Linked DNA regions of Homo sapiens: all the other regions are linked to region 2. Evidence: promoter capture Hi-C in human tissues and cell types (Jung and others, 2019). All regions are on one chromosome and are shown on one strand. The core of a region is centred on a gene start or on the middle of the fragment in contact, and the rest is flanking DNA. Distances in the headings are between cores, read along the strand shown. Region 1 has its middle 44 kb from the start of TBR1. Region 2 holds the start of TBR1 (T-box brain transcription factor 1). Region 3 overlaps PSMD14 (proteasome 26S subunit, non-ATPase 14).

Region 1 (4,256 bases), core at 584-3,083, 43 kb after region 2:
TTGGTACCAGTACCATGCTGTTTTGGTTACTGTAGCCTTGCAGTATAGTTTGAAGTTAGGTAGTGTGATGCCTCCAGCTTTGTTCTTTTTGCTTAGGATTGTCTTGGCTACATGGGCTCTTCTTGGCTTCCATATGAAATTTAAGGTAGTTTTTAAAAAAATTCTGTGAAGAAAGTCAATGGTAGCTTGATAGGAAGAGCATTCAATCTATAAATTACTTTGGGCGGTATAGCCATTTTCACAATATTGTTTCTTCCTATCCATGAGCATGGAATGTTTTTCCATTTGTTTGTGTCCTCTCATTTCGTTGAGCAGTAGTTTGTAGTTCTCCTTGAAGAGGTCCTTCACACCCCTTGTAAGTTGTATTCCTAGGTATTTTATTCTCTTTGTAGCAATTGTTAATGGGAGTTAACTCATGACTTGGCTCTCTGTCTATTATTGGTGTATATGAATGCTTGAGATTTTTGCACATTGATTTTGTATCCTGAGACTGCTGAAGTTGCTCATCAGCTTAAGGAGTTTTTGGACTGAGATGATGGGGTTTTCTAAATATACAAGCATGTCATCTGCAAACAGAGATAATTTGACTTCCTCTCTTCCTAATTGAATATGCTTTATTTCTTTCTCTTGCCTGATTGCTGTGGCTAGAACTTCCAATACTATGTTCAATAGGAGTGCTGAGAGAGGGCATCCTTGTCTTGTGTTAGTTTTCAAAGGGAATGCTTCTAGCTTTTGCCCATTGAGTATGATATTGGCTATGGGTTTGTTATAAAAAGCTCTTATTATTTTGAGATATGTTCCATCAATACCTAGTTTATTGAGTGTTTTTAGCATGAAGGGGTGTTGAATTTTATCAAAGGCTTTTTCTGCATCTATTGATATAATCATGTGGTTTTTGTCATTGGTTCCATTTATGTGATAGATTATGTTTATTGATTTGCATATGTTGCACCAGCCTTATGTCCTAAGGATGAAACTGACTTGATCATGGTGAATAAGATTTTTAATGTGCTGCTGGGTTTGGTTTGCCAATATTTTATTGAGGATTTTCACATCGATGTTCATCAGGGATATTGGCCTGAAATTTTCTTCTTTTGTTGTGTCTCTGCTAGGTTTTGGTATCAGGATGATGCTGGCCTCATAAAATGAGTTAGGGAGGAGTTCCTCTTTTTCTATTGTTTAGAATGGTTTTAGAAGGAATGGTACCAGCTCCTCTGTACCTCTGGTAGAATTTGGCTGTGAGTCCGTCTGGTCCTTGGGCTTTTTTTGGTTGGTAGGCTATTGATTACTGCCTCAATTTTAGAACTTGTTATTGGTCTATTCAGGGATTTGACTTCCTCCTGGTTTAGTCTTGGGAGGGAGTATGTGTCCAGGAATTTATCTATTTCTTCTAAATTTTCTAGTTTATTTGCACAGAGGTGTTTAAAGTATTCTCTGATGGTAGTTTGTTTTTCTGTGGGATCAGTGGTGATGTCCCCTTTATCATTTTTTATTGTGTCTATTTGATTCTTCTCTCTTCTCTTCTTTATTAGTCTGGCTAGTGGTCTATCTATTTTATTAATCTTTTCCAAAAACCACCTCCTGTACTTTTTGAGTTATTGAGGAGTTTTTCATGTCTCTATGTCCTTCAGCTCTGCTCTGATCCTAGTTATTTCTTGTCTTCTGCTAGCTTTTGAATTTGTTTGCTCTTCCTTCTCTTGTTCTTTAATTGTGATGTTAGGGTGTCAATTTTAGATCTTTCCTGCTTTAGAGGGAAATTTGCAATAAATTTCCCTCTAAACACTGCTTTAGTTGTGTCCCAGAGAATCTGGTATGTTGTGTCTTTGTTCTCTTTGGTTTCAAATAACTTATTTATTTCTGCCTTCATTTCATTATTTACCCAGTAGTCATTCAGGTGTTCCGTTTCCATGTAGTTGTGCGGTTTTGAGTGAGTTTCTTAATCCTGAGTTCTAATTTGATTGGACTGTGGTCTGAGAAACTGTTAGTTATGATTTCCACTCTTTTGCATGTGCTGAGGAGTGTTTTACTTCCAATCATGTGGTCAGTTTTAGAATGAGTGCGACGTGGTGCTGAGAAGAATGTATATTCTGTTGATTTGGAGTGGAGAAGTTCTGTAGATGTCTATTAGTTCCACTTGGTCCCACTATTATTGTGTGGGAGTCTAAGTTTCTTTGTAGGTCTCTAAGCACTTACTTTATGAATCTGGGTGCTCCTGTATTGGGTGCATGTATATTTAGGATAGTTAGCTCTTCTTGTTGCATCAATCCCTTTACCATTATGTAATGCCCTTCTTTGTCTTTTTTGATCTTTGTTGGTTTAAAGTCTGTTTTATCAGAGACTAGGATTGCAACCCCTGCTTTATTTTACTTTGATTTGCTTGGTAAATGTTCCTCCATCTCTTTATTTTGAGCCTATATGTGTCTTTTCACATGAGATGGGTCTCCTGAATACAGCACACTGATGGGTCTTGACTCTTTATCCAATTTCTGGTCTGTGTCGTTTAATTGGGGCATTAGCCCATTGACATTTAAGGTTAACATTGTTATCTGTGAATTTGATCCTGTCATTATGATGCTAGCTGGTTTTTTTGCATATTAGTTGATGCAGTTTATTCATAGTGTCAATAGCGTTTACACTTTGGTATGTTTTTGCAGTGGCTGATACCGGTTTTTCCTTTCCATATTTAGTGCTTCCTTCAGGAGCTCTTGTATGGCAGGCCTGGTAGTGACAAAATCTCTCAGCATTTGTTTGTCTGTAAAGGATTTTATTTCTCCTTAACTTATGGAGCTTAGCTTGGCTGGATATGAAATTCTAGGTTGAAAATTCTTTTCTATAAGAATGTTGAATATTGGCCTCCACTCTCTTCTGGCTTGTAGGGTTTCTGCAGATAGATTAGCTCTTAGTCTGATGGGCTTCCCTTTGTGGGTAACCCAACATTTCTCTCTGGCTGCCCTTAACATTTTTTTCCTTCATTTCAACCTTGGTAAATCTGATGATTATGTATCTTGGGGTTGAGCTTCTTGAGGAGTATCTTTGTGGTGTTCTCTATATTTCCTGAATTTGAATGTTGGCCTGTCTTGCTAGGTTCGGGAAGTTCTCCTGGATAATACCCTGAAGTGTGTTTTCCAACTTGATTCCATTCTCCCCATCACTTTCAGGTGCACCAATCAAACGTAGGTTTGGTCTTTTCACATAGTCCCATATTTCTTGGAGGCTTTGTTCATTCCTTTTCATTCTGTTTTCTCTAATCTTGTCTTTGTGCTTTATTTCATTAAGCTGATCTTCAGTCTCTGATAACTTTTCTTCCAATTGATTGATTCAGCTGTTGATACTTTTGTATGCTTCACAAAGTTCTCGTGCTGTGTTTTTCAGCTTCATCACATCAGTTATGTTCTTCTCTAAATTGGTTATTCTAGTTAGCAGTTCCTGTAACCTTTTATCACGGTTCTTGGCTTCTTTGCATTGGGTTAGAACATGCTCCTTTAGCTTGGAGGAGTTTGCTATTACTTACCTTTTGTAGCCTACTTCTGTCAATTCGTCAAACTCATTCTCTGTCCAGTTTTGTTCCCTTGCTGGCAAGGAGTTGTGATCCTTTGTAGAAGAGGCATTCTAGTTTTTGCAATTTTCAGCCTTTTTGCATGGGTTTTTCCTCATCTTCGTGGATTTATCTACCTTTAGTCTTTGATGTTGATGGCCTTCTGATAGGGTTTTTGCGTGGTTGTCCTTTTTGTTAATATTGATGCTATTGCTTTCTGTTTGTTAGTTTTCCTTGTAATGGTCAGGCCCCTCTTCTGCAGGTCTGCTGGAGTTTGCTGGAGGTGCACTCCAGATGCTGTTTGCCTGGATATCACCAGTAGAGGCTGCAGAACAGCAAAGATAGCTGCCTGCTACTTCTTCTGGAAGCTTTGTCCCAGAGGGGTACCCACCAGATGCCAGCCCAAGCTCTCCTGTATGAGGTGTCTGTTGACCCCTGCTGGGAGGTGTCTCCCAGTCAGGAGGCATGGGTTTCAGGGACCCACTTGAGGAGGCAGTCTGTCCCTTAGCAGAGCTTGAGCACTGTGATGGGAGATCCACTGCTCTCTTCAGAGTTGGCAGGCAAGAACGTTTAAGTCTGCTGAAGCTGCTCCCATAGCTACTCCTTCCCCCAGGTGCTCTGTCTCAGGGAGACGGGAGTTTTATCTATAAGTCCCTGACTGGGGCTGATGCCTTTCTCTCAGAGATGCCCTGCCCATAGAGGAGGAATCTGGAGAGGCAGT
Region 2 (4,631 bases), core at 1,932-4,431:
CCTATAGCCACACACCACTTACTCTCACTTAGTTCATGTTGGTGACATTCCCAGTTTCAGAACCTTGTCAAAATCTTTGCTAGCAAAAACCTACATTACTTTTTGTAGATTTGGAGTCGATCAAAATCAAGATGCCCTAAGAGGCAAGGCTCAGTGAACACCTTTGTCTTGGAATGTACAGCTATTTTCGCAGCAGCCTGATGTCCCAGGCCCAGTTAGGCACTGAAAAGATGCATTTAATCACAAACTTAGTAAGCTGTTTAAGACTGTATATGTATGCGCGCACATGTGCACGCAATTACCCCTCCATCATGCAGAGGTAAAGCAGCTCTGGAAACAAAACTGTTTGTCTCTAGTGCAGAAATGTCCCTGCTTTTCTCTCAGACTAATACGGGGGCACTGAAAGCTCCGGCCTCACTATTCAAAGTGTCATCTGCCTGGACCAATAGCATCTGGGTCTTATGGAAATTCGTTATATATACAGAAAGCAAGCCCCACCCCAGGCCTATTGAATCATAATAAAGAATCCTGGTGTGGTTCATATACACTTTAAGGTTTGAGAAGCCCTGGCCTTCTTTTAGAAGTACGGTTCACAGGCACATGTGGTGATTCTGAGGAAAGCCTTCATTTTCCTTAGTATATATAAATTCAAGGCATACCCTATATGTGAGCAATCACTGAATTTGGTACTGATAATCCAAAGTGGGTCAGAGAGCACATCAATTCAATTCCTTAAAAACTCTGAAGGAGGTGCACTCTTTCCCTTTTCTATCCTTTAACACCTTAACATTTCAATTTAGCATAAAAAAAAAACAGTTTAGGGTGTCGAGAATGGCAAAGCCTCAAAAAGAGCCCAGGTGATGTCTCACCTCTACACATTTAAGGCTCTGTCCCACTGAGAACGGAGGAAAGTACTGTCTTCCGAAGCACCGGAGGGAGAGGCACTCAGGGACAGAGAAGTTGAAGATGGAGAAAGAAGGAAACAAAAGTAGCCAAAAGTAGTCAAGAGGTCAAAAGCCTCTCATGAGGGCAAATGGCAGTAGAAGGTCAAGGGCAGAAAAACAAGTGTCAAATGGCATCCCCTACTCCCCTCCCCCGCACCCCAACGATTCAACAGCTAAGACTGCTTGTTTATGAAGCTTCCTGGCCAGGAGCTGAGGTTTGCTTTCGAAAGGAAAAATGGGTCTGGCTCTCTTTTTATCCCAGAAAATTGTCTCGGCTTTAGTCTGGGACATCTGGTCAACAACCTGCCCTGCCCAGGCCGCCAGCGCAGGGCCTTGCCCGCGGCGCGTTGATGGAGGCCGCAGCTGGTGCCCTCTGCAGCCAAGGCGCTCAGCCCGCCTGGAGGGGCGCAGTCTCGGCTCAGCGCTGACCGCTCGGCCCACCGAGGCGCAGCTCTGAAAATGCACCACAGTGGCGAAGCGGCGAGTCTGGATAACCCGTCTCCGCCCATGCTCAGGACCCACCCAATGTCCCCAGGCGCTGCTCTCACTCCGGGAGCTGCCCCGGCCCGGGTAGGACAGACGCGCTCGCTCGAAGCCAGAGGCTCCCCCGGCTGAGGTGCCCAGGCCGCTCCTCCAGCCCGGGAAGAGCGTGTGCCCCTGGGGTCTGCGCCAGACGCAGCTCACCCCTTGCTCCTTCAGTCTCCCGGGCGGAGCCCGCCCTCGGGCCGGCCAGCTCTCGGGGCCGAGCGGAGCTCTGGGCGGCGCTCCTCCTGCTCATTCCCGCGCGGCTCGGCGTCCGGGAGGAAAGCCGCGGGAGGGCAGGTCAGCGAGCGCCGGGCCGCGGGAGGCAGCTTTGGGCAGATAAAAAGCCTCTGCCGCTCTTGGCCCTCTGGCTCAGGCCGAGGGCTGGGCTCCTCTGTAGAGCCGGTGCTGGGAGACTTCCTCCCTACACCTCGGGGTCTCTTCGGGCCTCGTGCTATTTATTTGTGCCAACATCTTTTTAAATTGGTTTTTTTCTATTCCTCTTTAGATTCTTTTTCCTTTTAAAAATTATTGGCATGGATGCTTTTTCTCCCCTCCAGATTATATAAACATTAAACACACACACGTACACACACACACACGTTTTCAGTAGCGATTACTGTGTTGACACCACTTCCACTCTGTCTCCCCAGATCAGCGCTTCTGACGAGCCCATTTGCACGGGGACTCGGCCCTCTCTTTTCCTGGCGAGGCTTTTGAACCTGTCGCCAAGCCAGTACCTCAGAGAGAAGGAAATGCAGAGGGACGAGAAGGATGCATGGCGCCTGCCCCCAGTTAGATGTTCTTCAGATAATCTGCAACCAAGTGCGCTGATAAAATATTTAATAAAGAGCCGGTAAACATCACTGCAAATACATTAAGGCATTTCAGCCCGACAGCTTATGATTATTTCAAAACTTAAAAAGGAGATCATAGATTGTCACTGTTTCTGTACTCAACCAAGAAACCGAACCTTCCTGAGGTGGGTGGATTGGTGGGTGAGTTGCTGCTTTTCGCCCCCTCTCCTCCCCCCTTCTGCTTGTCGCTGTGGCTCTCAGCAGCAGGGATTTATTTATTTATGTTTGCAGTTTAAAAGGTGGGGGTGGGGGCGCCGAGGACATGTAGGATCTGCTCACAAAGCACCAGCTCAGGTGTTGTGTGCTTTTGTATTAGCTGGAAAAGACAGACTCTGGAACTTTTACAGGGCGAGAAGAGGCCACCGGCTCGCGCTTTGTATACTTTGCACTTGAAATCGTTACATTCAACTGAATATTTGGCTCATTCAGATCCGAAAAGTCTCCTAGCATCGTCGAATTCCCTCCTCCGCCCCTCCGCTCTAAAGGGGGGAAGGGGGGGAAGGTAGGAAATGTTTAGTAAATTCCACATCTTTGAATCTTCCTAAAGCAGTGGTCACAGAGCTTAAAGGTGACACAACAGTGCTCACGTAAACCAACACACATTCCCCACCCCCCAAGCCAACAATAAAATCATCCCCTTCAATTTGCCATGATCGTCGCTACCAGGAGCCAGGTGATTATCCTAATTAATGTCTATCTAATTAAATTACTGTCAGCAGCTAACCAATGGCAGGAGCCGTTTCATCGGCTGCACAAGCAGCAAGATCAAAAGTGAGCCTTTTCTGATTGCTGCATAGTGTCAATTGGCCAATCTCTTCTCCCAGGGAAAAAAAAAAGTAAATCAAACCTTTGAGAAGCATTTGCTGGTTGAAGTGCTTTCTGTCTAGTGAGGGGGTCTGTGGATTTCTAGTTTATGATAAATAGGACTTTAAAAACCAGGGACGGGAGGGCGAGTGTTCAGGTTCTAGAGCTATGCAGCTGGAGCACTGCCTTTCTCCTTCTATCATGCTCTCCAAGAAATTTCTCAATGTGAGCAGCAGCTACCCACATTCAGGCGGATCCGAGCTTGTCTTGCACGATCATCCCATTATCTCGACCACTGACAACCTGGAGAGAAGTTCACCTTTGAAAAAAATTACCAGGGGGATGACGAATCAGTCAGATACAGACAATTTTCCTGACTCCAAGGACTCACCAGGGGACGTCCAGAGAAGTAAACTCTCTCCTGTCTTGGACGGGGTCTCTGAGCTTCGTCACAGTTTCGATGGCTCTGCTGCAGATCGCTACCTCCTCTCTCAGTCCAGCCAGCCACAGTCTGCGGCCACTGCTCCCAGTGCCATGTTCCCGTACCCCGGCCAGCACGGACCGGCGCACCCCGCCTTCTCCATCGGCAGCCCTAGCCGCTACATGGCCCACCACCCGGTCATCACCAACGGAGCCTACAACAGCCTCCTGTCCAACTCCTCGCCGCAGGGATACCCCACGGCCGGCTACCCCTACCCACAGCAGTACGGCCACTCCTACCAAGGAGCTCCGTTCTACCAGTTCTCCTCCACCCAGCCGGGGCTGGTGCCCGGCAAAGCACAGGTGTACCTGTGCAACAGGCCCCTTTGGCTGAAATTTCACCGGCACCAAACGGAGATGATCATCACCAAACAGGGAAGGTAATACTACATTTTTGGCTGCCGCTGCTCTAGGCGCAGCCGGGGACAAGTGCACCTAGGCTGTGACTGCCGCGGCAGCGACGATTTGGGGTCGGGAGCGGAGTGGAAGGCGCCCTAGAGTTGGCTAGTTTTGGAAAGGGGGAAAGTGGAAGGGATAACCGCCAGGGTGATGTTGGTGGGGGGGACCCCGTTCTAGGAACATAGTGGGAGAGCCAGTCAGTGGCCAGAGGAAGGCAAGAAAAAGGAAGAGCCCTGGCCAGCGGCTGGGCGATGGGAGGGACGCATCAACACTGGCATGCACGGACAGGTGGAGACGCAGGTCGCCAACCTCGCTCTCCACCTGGGCAGTGATAACTGCCACCTTCCCACTCCAGCTCACCCGCCGCTCTCCCTGATTTGGGTTGCACTTCTTTTCTTCTCCCACCACCCTTTTTCTAATCCAGCAAATATTCGCCTATTTGCTGCAAGTACAAGTTTTGCTTTGCTAACTGGCGCCCCGCTTCTTGCATTTAATCTTTAACATTTATGTTTCTTTTTTCCTTGTTTTCTCCCCCCACCCCTTAATTTAAATAGGCGCATGTTTCCTTTTTTAAGTTTTAACATTTCTGGTCTCGATCCCACGGCTCATTACAATATTTTTGTGG
Region 3 (4,566 bases), core at 145-2,644, 47 kb before region 2:
CTTACCCTATAATAGCAGAGTGTTAGTTTGATTTTGAACCAAGTGTTCAAAAGATTTGAGATTCTCTTAATTTAGATTTTCAACTCACATATACTGGTTCTTATGTCTTGTTCCCATTGTTTTGAAATATGTCATTTAAAAAATGTTCTATATATGGTGATGAATGACTTTTTAAGCTTTTCTTATTTAAAATGTTAAGTTAAAGCAAAACAAAACAATAGCAAACCTGAATATTTTTTTCCCAGGCATGGTATTTTGTTTATATGCACCGTACTCCATACAAATTACCTGTATAGAATACATTATTCTTTCTAGAGATGTTTGTTTTGTTTTGCCTTTTTGTTTGATGCATTAGACTTGTGTTGATAGATGTGCATTTTGACTGAAAGAAAATAGCCAAAAAACAATAACCATTCCATCTACCTTCCAAAAAAAGCACATATATCCTTCTCACCTGTTTGCTTAGAAAAATATGCATGTATTTTTCCAAGCGATATTTCTTCTTTGCTAGGCAATATTTCTCTTACTGAGCCTTGTAAAAGAAGGATTAAAGAAATTGTTGTTATAAAGCTGTTAGTTCTATTCGAAGTTCTGTAAGTTTACTTTGATAAGGTAGATGCTGGAGAACAAATTACAATTTTAAGTACTGTAATATATATAGTATGTATATTAAAAATAAGCATTTAAAATAGAATATTTGCTACAGAATGCAATATATTTAAAATAATGTAAAGTTTTCTCTAAATAGATGAATTTGTTGAGGTAAACTAATTTGGATCTACTGATTTTATCCATCTTGATATCCATTATATTTATTTTATACATTTGGAAATAGAGAAACACTCTACATGTTAACCAAAGGTTTAGATTTAAATCTTAGACTATTTATTACTTGTATCTGTCTTTTTATATTAGGCTACATGAAACACATAAAACTAACTTATATATGTTATGGGTACTTATGTAGATACCCATTATAATACATTGTTCTTAGGCTTTAATATCATTACTTCCATGTAAATGCTTGTTTGACAATATAAAATAAAAGATTTTGATCCCTATATTCACTCTAATTCTATTTTCTAGTGTCATAGAATTAGAAAGTTTTTCTTCTGACCCCAGAGTCAGTAAACTTTTTCTATAAAGACATATGTCTCTGTTGCATATTCTTCTTCTTTTTTAAGACAGTCCTTTTAAAGTATATATATGAAAAGAAAGAAAAAAACCGAAAACATTCTTAGCCTATAAGCAGCAGATTGCATACCCCTGTTCTTGAGGATGTACTCTCTGTTGGAATTCAATATGCATACTGTTTGTTTTGGTGGGAAGGAAGTGCTTATGTTAACTAGTTTCTTTAAGTACATTAGATTTAGATTCCTGAGGTTAGAAGAAAGCCTTGGGAGCTATAAAGACAGTACTCTATCGCCAGAGAGATGATCTGAACCTTTTAATTCTTCCTGTTCAAATATCTTATTTTGGTTGAACTAGCAAAATAATGCTGTATGTAAGAGACTTGAGGCTGTTTCATTATGATAGCTGAATATTTGTAGAACTTTGGATGAGGCTCATTTTAGTCATCAGTTATGATAGGATGGCATTAGGAAGTATGCTTGCCTAAATAGGTCTAACCAATAGTTATGGTTGGTTCAATTATTTCGTATTTCTGGTAAACATATACACAGCAATGGCCATATACTCTTAAAGAATCCTGAAAGTGGGCTTAACTCGATCGCCAACAGCAGTTTGGTAGTTGGCAATTTTAGAAGCTTGATTGGTATGAGGTTTATAATTGAATGACTTGAGTAGGTATCAAATGTAGGTATCAAAACCTATAAAATGATTTTGGCAACCCCAAATAATATACATAGGGAAGCTTTTTTTCCAAATTTACAAAAATTAATAATTTTTCTTTCTTTCTAAATCAGGGTGTCAGTGTGGAGGCAGTTGATCCAGTGTTCCAAGCTAAAATGTTGGATATGTTGAAGCAGACAGGAAGGTAAGCATTTTAAATGATCAGTTAAAGAAATAATGGGAAATATTTATAGAAACATACCTCAAAGTTATAGATGTTTATCAATGTCATTTCTAGAAAAAGTGGTTATGTAATTGACATAAAAGTATCTGTAAATATCAGTGCCATGCACCACCTGTCTAGTATATCTTCCCTTTAGAACCAGAGAAATTTGCCCATCAGAGAACTGCCTCATGTTAAAATTCTTGACTGTCACATAGTAAGCTTGGGCTGTAGCTTCCCTCTGTTTAGCATATGGAGTTACTGTCTAGTCACTTATAATTGAAAGAGCTTGTATGTTCCATGTATTTGAGAGTTGCAACTGAATGAGATTATGAATATTTAATTATGTTTGTAGGCATAGTTTTAAAGACAGAGAAAGTATAATCCAAATATTCTAAAGTTTTTTCCTCAGACCAAATCTCTCAATAGTTGTCATTCTCTTGCTCAAATTCTTCTGCTGTGGAAACAACTTCAAAATTAATGTTAGCAAAAGGCTCAGCAGCTGAGCAGAACAGTGCAAATTGGTTTTTGACTGAGTTCCTAGTTCTACTGCTGGTTTAATTGATATTTAATCCTTTCACAACAGTGGATCCTGGTGTCCATTGTTAAAAATGTACTCTGTGCCTGGAAAATCCAACTCCCAGAGCTAAGGAGTTAAAGAGTAGATATTTACTTGAATGCTGAAAGGGTAAAAACTGGCTCTGAGAAACTGTGGTAACAAGGTGAAAAACTGAAAGCCTTATCTACCACTGCTAATGTGCATCTCTTAATGATAGCACTCCTTTGTCACACATATTCATTTCCATGTTTTCTGGATAATATGGTGTACAATTTCAGGGTTTCTAATGGTGCTTTTTCACACCTGTGTGTTTTTCATCTCTTCTTAATTTATACCCCGTTAGTGTGTTGTTTCTTTTCATATCATAAATGTATTACTTGTTCTGTTCTGAGCATCTGAATGCCCTCTTTGTTTCAGGCCGGAGATGGTTGTTGGTTGGTATCACAGTCACCCTGGCTTTGGTTGTTGGCTTTCTGGTGTGGATATCAACACTCAGCAGAGCTTTGAAGCCTTGTCGGAGAGAGCTGTGGCAGTGGTTGTGGATCCCATTCAGAGTGTAAAAGGAAAGGTAGAGTAGATTCTATCTTTATTGCCATCTACTGCCACATTCTGTTTACAGATACATTAAATAAAAATCAATTTTGTTCAAAGCAGGATTCTTAATTACACAGAAAGCTGCTGTCTGTTTACTTAAAAAACAAAAAAACTGTACAAGTTGATAACTGTGTCTTGGTATTATTAGCAATTTATTTAGAGATTTCTTCTTTAATCACTTATTGTGTAATTTTCCTGAATATTTATCTTTAAATTTTTTGAATTTCATAAAATTAGGAAAGTTAAACCATACTCAAAGCCTGCTATAAACATTTTATTAATATTTAAATAAACATTGCTTTACCTTTATTTTCAAATGATGAATTTGGAATTGGCACAACATTTTAAAAATCTATTTAAAGGGCATTGTTTTGCAGACATTATGCAGGACATATTCTGGAGGTGTGTTTTCCAAATATTTTAGACAATGAAAACTTGCCCAAAGACTTGGTATCAACCATTCACGTTTTTGGAGTGAGGACGCAAATGAATGATTAAATATGCTAAATAATTCTGAAAACAGATTAACTTGCAAAGCATATTGGGTTATAGTTCTTTGTTGAAACCCCTTTTGTTCTTGTTTAGTTCTCTTTCTCTTTTTTTGTTCATTCATTCTTTCTTTTTTTTTTTTATTTCTTTCTTTCTAGCCCCATATGCCATTTTCCTATTTCCTGCCTCATGACAGCAGGGAGCAGCTCTATTATCACCTTCACAGAGCTGTCTGCAAATGTGAGAGGCAATTCGATTTTGCTCAACCACAGGGAGAGTGGATTAGAAAAACTACAGACATACAGAAATTGGCTAGGTGGTTACTGCTTTAAAATACTGCTGAGGTGTCTTGTTTGAGCATGTACTTCCATTGTAGTGTAGAATAATTGTTAAAATAAAATCACAATATATTTATGCAATCCTTTTTATGCAGGTTTTACAAATAATTTTTAGAGTACTTAGAAATAAATATTAGCTTGTTATCTATCAGACCTGGAGTTTGATAGTAGTGCAGATTACATTTATATCTGCTCACCAGCAGAAAAACTAAACATGGCTGTTAAAATACGGAGTTTTTATCTGTCATAAATTTGAAGTTGAATGTTTTCTGACATCATGTCATTATCATGTATAAAAATTGAGGTCTTCTCTAAATCATGATCCTATTAGGTGTGATTTAGCTTTTCAGAGGCAAAAACTATCCACAAAAACAGTAATAGAAACTGATATACTAGACCATTCAGAATGGATAGCTTCTGATTCTTGCTATATGCCTATATTTCAATTTATTTACTTTTTTTTAACTATATGTGTTGTTACTCAACATATAGATAAAAGAGGTTGAAAAATCCTTGATTGTTATTAGCTTTATGAATTATATTTGATGCCTCTTAAGTTTAATTCTCTATTT

What was found. The method cuts DNA at HindIII sites, captures the fragments that hold promoters and counts their contacts. A contact is called where the count stands out against the background at its distance.
Region 1: a contact is called between a fragment that was not itself captured here and the fragment with the promoter of TBR1 in region 2, in 1 of the 25 tissues and cell types used here (pancreas).
Region 3: a contact is called between a fragment that was not itself captured here and the fragment with the promoter of TBR1 in region 2, in 1 of the 25 tissues and cell types used here (H1 embryonic stem cells).

What each region holds. Positions count from the first base shown.
Region 1 is chr2:161,457,870-161,462,125 of GRCh38, forward strand. No RefSeq gene overlaps it. Among named protein-coding and RNA genes, the nearest start is that of TBR1, 44 kb to the left of the region's middle. The HindIII fragment of the contact is 4,589 bases long and covers 1-4,128 here.
Region 2 is chr2:161,413,116-161,417,746 of GRCh38, forward strand. TBR1 (T-box brain transcription factor 1) reads left to right here and starts at 3,182. Exons shown (of 6, transcript NM_006593.4): 1 at 3,182-3,987; 2 at 4,561-4,631. The coding sequence starts at 3,296. RefSeq lists enhancers at 1,397-1,546, 3,308-3,930 and silencers at 1,597-1,766, 1,837-1,886. The HindIII fragment of the contact is 6,943 bases long and covers 112-4,631 here.
Region 3 is chr2:161,368,182-161,372,747 of GRCh38, forward strand. It overlaps PSMD14 (proteasome 26S subunit, non-ATPase 14), which reads left to right. Exons shown (of 12, transcript NM_005805.6): 6 at 1,926-1,996; 7 at 2,991-3,141. Among named protein-coding and RNA genes, the nearest start is that of TBR1, 46 kb to the right of the region's middle. RefSeq lists an enhancer at 2,123-4,566. The HindIII fragment of the contact is 4,129 bases long and covers 1-3,459 here.